3 separate regions of the Homo sapiens genome follow, and regions 2 and 3 are each linked to region 1. The links are contacts of gene promoters, found by promoter capture Hi-C in blood cells and fetal thymus (Javierre and others, 2016). All regions are on one chromosome and are shown on one strand. The core of a region is centred on a gene start or on the middle of the fragment in contact, and the rest is flanking DNA. Distances in the headings are between cores, read along the strand shown. Region 1 holds the start of ZNF559 (zinc finger protein 559). Region 2 overlaps ZNF836 (zinc finger protein 836). Region 3 holds the start of ZNF585A (zinc finger protein 585A).

What was found. Contacts are between HindIII fragments. The CHiCAGO score rates a contact against its expected background, and 5 or more counts as called.
Region 2: a contact is called between a fragment that was not itself captured here and the fragment with the promoter of ZNF559 in region 1, in 1 of 17 cell types (non-activated CD4 T cells). The highest score is 5.6, in non-activated CD4 T cells.
Region 3: a contact is called between a fragment that was not itself captured here and the fragment with the promoter of ZNF559 in region 1, in 1 of 17 cell types (naive B cells). The highest score is 8.3, in naive B cells.

The regions. Positions count from the first base shown.
Region 1 is chr19:9,322,572-9,325,801 of GRCh38, forward strand. ZNF559 (zinc finger protein 559) reads left to right here and starts at 1,608. Exons shown (of 7, transcript NM_032497.3): 1 at 1,608-1,657; 2 at 2,124-2,209. ZNF559-ZNF177 (ZNF559-ZNF177 readthrough) reads left to right here and starts at 1,608. Exons shown (of 13, transcript NM_001384659.1): 1 at 1,608-1,657; 2 at 2,124-2,209. RefSeq lists an enhancer at 1,452-1,701 and a silencer at 1,872-2,011. The HindIII fragment of the contact is 3,488 bases long and covers 1-3,230 here.
Region 2 is chr19:52,154,953-52,158,182 of GRCh38, forward strand. It overlaps ZNF836 (zinc finger protein 836), which reads right to left. Exons shown (of 5, transcript NM_001102657.3): 5 at 1-2,588. Among named protein-coding and RNA genes, the nearest start is that of ZNF836, 15 kb to the right of the region's middle. The HindIII fragment of the contact is 2,093 bases long and covers 205-2,297 here.
Region 3 is chr19:37,172,611-37,175,840 of GRCh38, forward strand. ZNF585A (zinc finger protein 585A) reads right to left here and starts at 85. Exons shown (of 5, transcript NM_001288800.2): 1 at 17-85. RefSeq lists enhancers at 1-175, 17-311. The HindIII fragment of the contact is 1,132 bases long and covers 1,061-2,192 here.

The DNA.
Region 1 (3,230 bases), core at 358-2,857:
GAAGCCAGCGAGACCACGAGCCCACCGGGAGAAATGAACAACTCCAGACGCGCCGCTTTAAGAGCTCTAACACTCACCGCGAAGGTCTGCAGCTTCACTCCTGAGCCAGCAAGACCACGAACCCACCAGAAGGAAGAAACTCCGAGCACATCCGAACATCAGAAGGAACAAACTCCAGACGTGCCACCTTAAGATCTGTAACACTCACCACGAGGGTCCCCGGCTTCATTCTTGGAGTCGGTGAGACCAAGAACCCACCAATTCCGGACACATTAGTACAGGTCTTTGAATAAATTTTGCTTCTAACAGAAGTTACTATTTATTCCTAATTAGATGGGCAGGAAAGTCTTTGAAGAGGAACCTCTACTTTACTTTTTACTGTAGAGAGAGTAGTCTTTGATCTTGGGGAGATGGGGTTTTTCCTTTTGGTTTAGCTTCAGGAAGTTTGTGTTAATTGGCCTTAGGTGCCCTGCCCCCAGCCCCAGGTGTTTTTCCTTTGATTTAACTTTAGGAAATTATCACGAATTGGCCTTAGATTCCCCGACCCCAGATCTTGGTGTTTTCACTTTTAGGAAGTCCGCATGAATCTTATCTATGCTCTTAACTACGTCCTAATTTTTGTGTTTTTTGTCTTTTTTATAGGAATAGGGTTTTGCCATATTGCCCAGGCTGGTCTCGAACTCCTGAGCTCAAGTGGTCTGCCTGCCTCAGCCTCCCAAAGTGCTGGGATCACTGGCGTGAGCCATCAGGCCCAGCCTCTATGTGCTAATTTTTGAACAAATTCCAATAGGAGCATTCTAGTCTCTGAGTGTGAGATGACCAAAAATCAAGCCCTTGTGAGGCTGAATAGAGTCGGGAGGCAGGGAACTTAAGGCTGTTTCAGGCCGACTTCCTAGAACTAAATTGAAAGGAAAACCCTCACTTTCCTCGCCTAAATAACAAAAGGACCAGAGGCTACTCCCTTTGACCTTTTCTGCTGGCAGATAGGAAATTGGCTGTCTGCAACAAATCAGACTGATGGCCGGTTGAGTCTTCATTTGCATAGAAGTGTAACTTTGTAACGTCGTAACTTCACCCTAGCCTTTGATTGGTTGCTTTTTGCAACCAATCAGATGTTTGCACAGGAGTGTGACCTTTGTAACTTCAGACTCTGGTTGGCTGCTTTCTGCAACCAATCAGACTGAACGCGGGCTACCGCTTCATTTACAGGAGGTGAGCATGAAGTGGCCAATGGGAAAATTCTAGGAGGTATTGGGACTCATGAAGGTTCTGTTTCGGAGCCCTTGAGCTGCCGCTTGGCCAGTTCCCACACTGTGGAGTATGCTTTCGTTTTCAACAAATCCCAGCTCTTGTTCTTTTGTTGCTTCATTCTTTCTTTGCTTTGCTGGGCGTTTTGTCTAATTCTTTGTTCAAAACGCCAGTAACCTGGACAGCTTGCAGTCAAGACCCCCTACCGGTGACACTTGCGCTCTTCGGGGAGGTAAACAGCATTTCCTCTCAGCTCTGGGTTGGAAAAAGCCGCAGCAGCTGATGGGCCCGGGAACCCGAGGCCCCGCCCCCTAGGTGGTCCTAGCCTTTGCGCGTGCGCGGCGTGTCTGCGTGGGCGCATGCGCATAACGGCCGCCATCTTAACAGCGCGTTCCCGTTGGCGTCTGAGGTAAGTTTTTGTTTCTGGGCGGCGTTCGGTGGTGTCCCGGTGCAGCCACGCGAGAGTAGAAGGGTGGAAAGGGGAGGTGCCCAGTGAAATGGAGCCTGTCCCGTGCACTTTCGGGCATTTCGAGCATCTTGTGGGCTCTCCCAAGTCGCGGCCCCTCCTCTGAGAGCCACAGTCAGGTCTGTCCTCAGGGGTCGAGGCGGCTGCGCTGGGGCCTCGGCCCGGGAGGAGGCGGGGGGCACGGCCTTTCCATTTTCCCTGCTCCCCTCTGCAGAAGCCTCATAGGGCCCGGCGCGGCGGCTCACGCCTGTCATTCCCAGCGCTTTGGGCGGATTGGGTAGGAGGATTACTTGAGGCCAGGAGTTCAAGACCAGGCAGGGCAACATAGGGAGACCCCCCCCCCCAACCATCTCTAATGGAAAAAAAAAAAAAAGTCTCCACATCCAGCGTTGTGCCTTTTCTCTATAAGGAACAGCATCTCTGCCTTCCTGTTCACGGTGACCTTCGCTTGGTGTCCTCCTGGCCTCAGCAACCTGACAATTCTGTCGTGTCCCGGTGAGCACTTCATGCACTTGTTCTGGCTGTGGGTGTCGGGTCTTGAAGTTTAAGTTGTGTCGAGGTGGAAAGAAACCTTTTCAGGTGGTTGTTCGAGAGCACATGGATCTGATACCATCGAATGCATGAGTGGATGAATGCACATAACTGTAAAATTTACCACCAAGGAAAAACACAGGACTACTCAACTGTGGTTCCAGGCCATCACCTAGATCTCACTCTAGCGCCCTGTAGATTCCCCCAGAGGTTCAAAACGAGGGCATCCCCAGGAACACGGTGCGGGCTGATTTACTAGCAGGAGGGATTGAATTGATAATGAATGCGAAGATAACTTTTGACAGGTGGGTTTTCTACCAGTTACTCATTTGAAAGTCTTACTGAGGGCGGGGCAAGGTGGCTCACACCTGTAATCCCAGCGTTTTGGGAGGCTGAGGCTGGAGGATCGCTTGAGCCCAGGAATTTGATGCCAACCTGGAAAAAATAGGGCAAGCCTCTGTCTCTACTAAAAATAAAAAATTAGCTGGGCATGGTGGTGTCTGTGGTCCCATCCACTTTGGAGGCCGAGATGCGAGGATCACTTGAGCATGGGAGGTCGAGGCTGCTGTGAGCCATTATTGTGTCACTGCATTCCAGCTTAGGCAACAGAGTGAGACCCTGTTTCAAAAAGAAGAAAAAAAAACAAATACTGATCTAGAGAACATCTGTAGCTCGAGTAAAACAAATGTCTTTAGTCCAGGTGTGGTGGCTCACGCCTGTAATCCCAGCATGTTGGGAGGCTGAGGCTGGCGGATCACGAGGTCAGGAGTTTGAGACCAGCCTGGCCAACATAGTGAAACCCCGTCTTTACTCAAAATACAAAAAATTAGCCGGGCGTGGGCACCTGTAATCCCAGCTACTCAGGAGCCTGAGGCAGGAGAATCGCTTGAACCTGGGAGGCAGAGGTTGCAGTGAGCCAAGATTGCACCCTTGCATTCCAGCCTGGGCAACAGTGCGAGACTCCGTCTCCAAAAAAAAAAAAAAA
Region 2 (3,230 bases), core at 1-2,500, about 43 Mb after region 1:
TGTCTGATGTTTAGTGAGGCCTGAGCGACTAATGAAAGATTTGCCACACTCATTACATTTATAAGGTTTTTCTCCAGAATGAATCATTTGGTGTTTGTTGAGGCAAGAAAACCGCCCAAAGGCCTTGCCACATTCAATACATTTGTATGGCTTCTCTCCAGTGTGATTTCTTTGATGGTACACCAGCTTTGACCTTTCAATAAAAGCTTTACCACATTCATTACATTTGTAAGGTTTGTCCCCAGTATGCATTTTCTGATGATTAACCAGAATTGAACGCACTCTAAAGGCTTTGCCACACTCATTACACACGTAAGGTTTCTCTCCAGTATGAATACTCCGATGACGTGCTAGTGTTGATTGATGACGAAAGACCTTGCCACATTCATTACATTTGTAAGGTTTCTCTCCAGTGTGAATTCTCCGATGCCTTGCAAGGTTCGAAGTGGAATTAAAGACCTGGCCACATTCAATACATTTGTATGGCATCTCTCCAGTATGCCTTCTCTGATGGTACGTCAGGCCTGTTATATGACTAAAAGTTCTACCACAATGGCTACATTTGTGTGGTTTCTCCCCAGTAGGATTTCTGTGATATCTTGCAAGTTTTGAACTTTGGATAAATGCCCCTCCAAACTCATTACAATTGTAAGGTTTCTCTCCAGTATGAATTATCAGATGTTTAGTGAGGCTTGAACGCTGAGTATAGGCTTTGCCACAATCATTACATTTGTAAGGTTTCTCTCCGGTATGAATTTTCCGATGACGTGCTAGGCATGAGTAGTAACTGAAAACCTTGCCGCATTCGTTACATTGAAACGGCTTCTCTCCAGTATGAATTCTCTTATGATTTGAAAGGTTTCCACTGTCATTGAAGACCTTGCCACACACATTACATTTGTAAGGTTTCTGCCCAGTATGAATTCTTAGATGACGTGCTAGGCATGAGTAGTTCCTGAAGACTGTGCCACATTCATTACATTGGAAAGGTTTCTCTCCCGTATGTATTCTCTTATGAATTGAAAGGTTTCCACTGTAATTGAAGACCTTGCCACACACATTACATTTGTAAGGTTGCTCCCCAGTATGAATTCTTAAATGTCTTACAAGGCATGAATTTTCACTAAAGACCTTTCCACATTCACCGCATTGGTAACGTTTCTCTCTGGTATGAATTATCTTATGTCGAGTGAGTAATGAGCCCTGTTTAAAGGCTTTACCACATTTATCACATTTGTAAGGTTTCTCTCCAGTATGAATTCTCCGATGCCCCACAAGATGTGAAGTCTGACTGAAGACCTTGCCACATTCATTGCATTTGTAAGGTTTCTCTCCAGTATGACTTCTCTGGTGCCTTGCAAGTTGTGAACGTTGACTGAAGACCTTGTCGCATACATCACATGTATATGGTTTCTCTCCTGTATGGATTATCTGATGTGTAGTGAGGCTGGAGCTCCGTTTAAAGGTTTTGCCACACTCATCACATTTGTAAGGTTTGTTTCCACTATGAACTGTCTGATGAGTTGCCAGGTTGGAACTTTGACTAAAGGACTTTCCACATATGTTGCATTTGTATGGTTTCTCTCCAGTGTGGATTCTCTGGTGATTTACAAGATTAGAATTCTGCCTGAAGACCTTGCCACATATATCACATTGATATGGTTTCTCTCCTGTATGGATTATCTGATGTGTAGTGAGGCATGAGCCTTGTTTGAAGGTTTTCCCACACTCATTACATTTGTAAGGTTTCTCTCCAGTGTGAATTCTCTGATGTATTGCAAGGTTATAACTTTGACTAAAGGACTTGCCACATTCATTACATTTGTACGGTTTCTCTCCAGTGTGACTTCTCCGGTGATTTACAAGATCTGAATTTTGTCTGAAGATCTTGCCACATACACCACATTGATATGGCTTCCCCCTTGTATGGACTATCTGATGTATAGTTAGTAGTGAGCCCCGATGAAAGGCTTTGCCACATTCATTGCATTTGTAAGGTTTCTCTGTAGTATGTACCATCTGATGGTTAATAAGACTTGAAGACACTCTAAAGGCTTTGCCACACCCTTTACACATATAAGGTTTTTCCCTAATGTGTGTTTTCTCAAGTTGGGTGGGTAATGACAGCTGCAAAAACTCATTCTCATATTTTTTAGAAATGTTGGTTTGGACACTAGGAAGAATTCTTTGAAGTGGTGAAACTAGGGAACTGTTATTAACTGTCTTCTCAGATTGGTTACACTCATAAATTTTCCCTTCAGTTTGAAATTTCTGCAGTTCAGTCAGACGTGACTGAAAGCTTAATGTAAGCTGATTTTCAATACATTTGTTTTCTACATCCTCTTGACTATGTTGACCTCTTTTACCATTAAGATTGTTTTTATAGGTCATTGGCACTTCTTTATAATTTATTTCACCATCTTTCCATTGAAACTCAAGGTCCTGTAGATTTTTCTGGATTTCCCTTAAGTAAAAATTTTCAACATCATAACATTCATGTCTTTCCAGCGTCACTGTTTGGCATTTTTCTCCTGTATTACTGTTCCCTATTGGTGGTAATTCCTTGGTCATACATTTAGGAAGGATACCTACAAAATATAATGAACATGGGAGTTTTTTCGTTGGTTTTTTTTTTTGAGACAGAGTCTTGCTCTGTTGCCCAGGCTGGAGTGGAGTGGCACAATCTCAGCTCACTGTGACCTCCACCTCCTGGGTTCGAGCTATTCTTCTGCCTCAGCCTCCTGAGTAGCTGGGACTACAGGCACACATCACCACACCTGGCTAATTTTTATATTTTTAGTAGAGACAGGGTTTCCCCATATTGGCCAGGCTGGTCTCGAACTCCTGACCTCGTGATCCGCCCACCTCGGCCCCACAAAGTGCTGGGATTACAGGTGTGAGCCACTGCGCCTGGCCGAACATAGATTTTAAAAATAACTAGTATTATTTGTTTTTTTTTAAATAACTACTATTCATAAATATTTTATATTGAAAACATACTACACTAAAAGTAACGTTTATACTAGACAGTTACCAAACTTTACCACAATGATCTTCTATTTTTACAAATAAAAAAGGAGTAGAATTCTTCAGTAAAGAAAGAGTAATCACATGTAATTCAAATTAATTTTAAGGAAACCTAGTTTCAAACATTCAATGACTGAAAGACTCATGTTGTGCAAACATATATTAGCACTAAAACAAGTATTTTTCCACCATGCCCCCAAATC
Region 3 (3,230 bases), core at 377-2,876, about 28 Mb after region 1:
GATCAACCAAAATCACCTCAAAGATTTATCGGTATTGGAATATGAAAATACTCCTGACACCAGCGGCAAAAAAGCCTTGGAAGACCACTTCCACTTCCGGTCCGACTTCTAGCACCTCCCCTTTGTAGGCTGTTGATATGGCGCATGCTCTGAATAAACTTGGAAGCCAGTTTCCTCGAACAGTCAACAGGGCGCAGACACAGCGCACAGGTTCCGTAATGTGGCGCTGTCCGGCAGAGAACATGGCCGCGCCCTTATGGTGTTTATTCGCGTGGGCCGCCATTTTGAAAGCATATCCATTCCGTAGAGCAGAGGAATTGGCCGCTGGCAGGGTTTCCTAGAGCGAGGCAGGTATAGTTACATAGGATGCTGGAGTGTGACCCTTGTCTGACTAGGCTTCTATTTCGGAGGAGAAAGTTACTGGAAATGTGGGTCTGGTGCTGTATGTTATATTTAGAAAAGCTAAGTTACCTTTCTGAATACAGGACACTGAGGATAATAATTACCAGGGAATAGAGGAGCCAGGGAAAAATCACCAAGTGAAGGGGATCCTGGGAGAAACCACAGGCAGATGATAGGAGGAATCAGGATAGTACAGTCCATTTTTTACAGACGCCATTCAGGGAAAAGGTGGAAAGGTCACTAGGGGAGTCATCTCTTGAGTGAAACCACCCTGAAAGTCTGAGAGACATCTGAATGAGTAGTAGGCTGCAGGAAGAGTGGTACAACTTTTAATGGGAGAAACCGCCTTGGGAAATAGGGTAGAAGTCCAATAGTATTAATACAATCCTCTCCTGGGAGATACCACCAGAGGAGGGAGGAGAAGTCCGGGCGTCCCCTTCTGAAGGGCTGGGTCGGGTGGGAAGGTGAATAGAGATTTGAATCACCCATTACCCTCCACACTAAATACCTCAAGTGCAACTATAGTAGGCAGCAATAATAACAACACTAATAGTCTTTAGTATGGCCAACGTGTTACTAAAAGCACCTAAAGAAGACTGTTTTTATTTACCTTGAAGTTAAAATATAATTAATAACAATCGCCTTACCATGTCAATGAAGCTTTAAGTGCAGTCTCTGACCCTTAGCTTCTCCTCTGTGGAAATTCTGAAACCTCCTTACTCCCCTTTTTGGAGGGTGTGGATGAGGAGTTGTAAAGATACAATTCCTTTCACTTGGTGAACTCCTAAACATGATTCACAGCTCAGCTTCTGACAGGAAGTTCTACCTGAACAGTGGTGGGAAATTACTACCCAATGTGTTCAGTTCCAGCAGGTGGGAAACTTGTTTTCAGGGAATTGAACCTACACTCTGATGTGGGCATGCTGGATGCCTTCAGGCCAGTTATGTCTGTCTCTGGGACTCGGCTTAAAAATATGTTTAGAGAATTAGACTCTGCTGATCTCAGGTTTTCTTTCTTCTCCGAAAGGACGGTCTAAGGAAACATCTGTGGAAGTCCGTTAGTAAACACACAATTTCTACCAAGGGGCTAAGAATTACTGTTGATTTTGTCAGTAATGCAGCTCTGTTAAAAAGAAGATGACTTAACTTTTAGGGATTCGTGTGGAAATATTTATGGGTGGAATAATATTAGCTTTAAAAACTCCACTGAGAAAAAAAAAACTCCACTGAGAAGGGGTATATGGTATTGCAAAAGAAAATGTTGATAAATGTTAAAGCAGAGTGATAAGTAGACAGAACTCATTATAATGTTCTCTTCCATAGTATTTGTGTGAAATTTTCATAGTAAATTTCTAATTTAAAAAGAAAGGAATTAAAAACATTTACAAGGAAACATCAAGAAGACAGCAGGTGTGGTCATAGTGTTAGGGAAGATGAAACCTAGGAGACCCAGAGTGACACCATTTTAAGTTCAGCTCCATCTTGACACTAGCAAGGCACATTCATTGCAAGTCACAACTCATGGTCCTAATGTGTTTACAGCGAAGGAAGCAGCCCTGTAATGCCTGCAAAGACAAACTCCTAGAACAACAGAAAGTCCAGATGTCCAATACCCATAACAATAAATGCTTTCAAGATCATTATAGTTATACTTTGATGTACTTACTAAAATGTCAGGGATAGTTTTCTTTAAATCAATAGAATAATAAATTTTGTCATAATGTCAGGCCACCCACGCATAGGCACAGCTTACTTTAGTCTTTACATAGACAAGACCCCTATATAAGAAAAGCTTAACAGATGTTCCTCCACTTGCTTTCTGAGGACACCCTACTCTGTTGTGGAGTAGCTTTCAATAAACTATCTCTTCTCACTGCACTCTACAACCCACCTGGAATTCTTTCCTGCATGAGATCAAGAACCCTCTCTTGGAGTCTGGATTGAGACCCTTTTATTTCCATAACAATAGTATTATACAAACACAGGCATACCTCAGCGATATTTAGGGTTTGGTTCTAGACCACTACAATAAAGCGAGTCACACAATTTGTTTGGTTTCCTGGTGCGACATACACTGGGGCCTGTTGGGGGTGGGGTGGCGGGAGGGAGAGCATTAGGAAAAATAGCTAATGCATCCTGGGCTTAACACCTAGGTGATGGGTTGACAGGTGCAGCAAACCACCATGGCACACGTTTACCTATGTAACAAACCTGCACATCCTGCACACGTACCCCAGAACTTAAAATAAAAATTAAAGGCTGGGTGCCCGTGGCTCACGCCTCTAATCCCAGCACTTGGGGAGGCCAAGGCAGGCGGATCACGAGGTCAAGAGGTCGAGACCATCCTGGCCAACATTGTGAAACTCTGTCTCTATTAAAAATACAAAAATTAGCTGGGTGTGGCAGTGCACACCTGTAGTTCCAGCTACTCGGGAGTGTGAGGCAGGAGAATCACTTGAACCCGGGAGGCAGAGGTTGCAGTGAGTTGAGATCGCGCCACTGCACTCCAGCCTGGGCGACAGTGCAAGACTCTGTCTCAAAAAAATAAAATTAAAATTAAAAAAGTCTATTTTGAAAAAAATAGAGAAAGAAAACAACATGAGAAAGAAAAAGGAACATTACTACTGAGAGAAAGATTTAAAACTCAAGAGAATTCTAAGGATATTTTGAGAAATCCATTTGAAAATGTAATAAAATAGGAAGTTTCCTAGGAAAACACAGATGAAAATTGCCATGTATAGGAAGAAAATTTGGATAGGCCAAAAACAATAAAAGAAATTGAATTGGTAGCATATGCAAAAACCAATCCTATGTGTATTAATGATTCA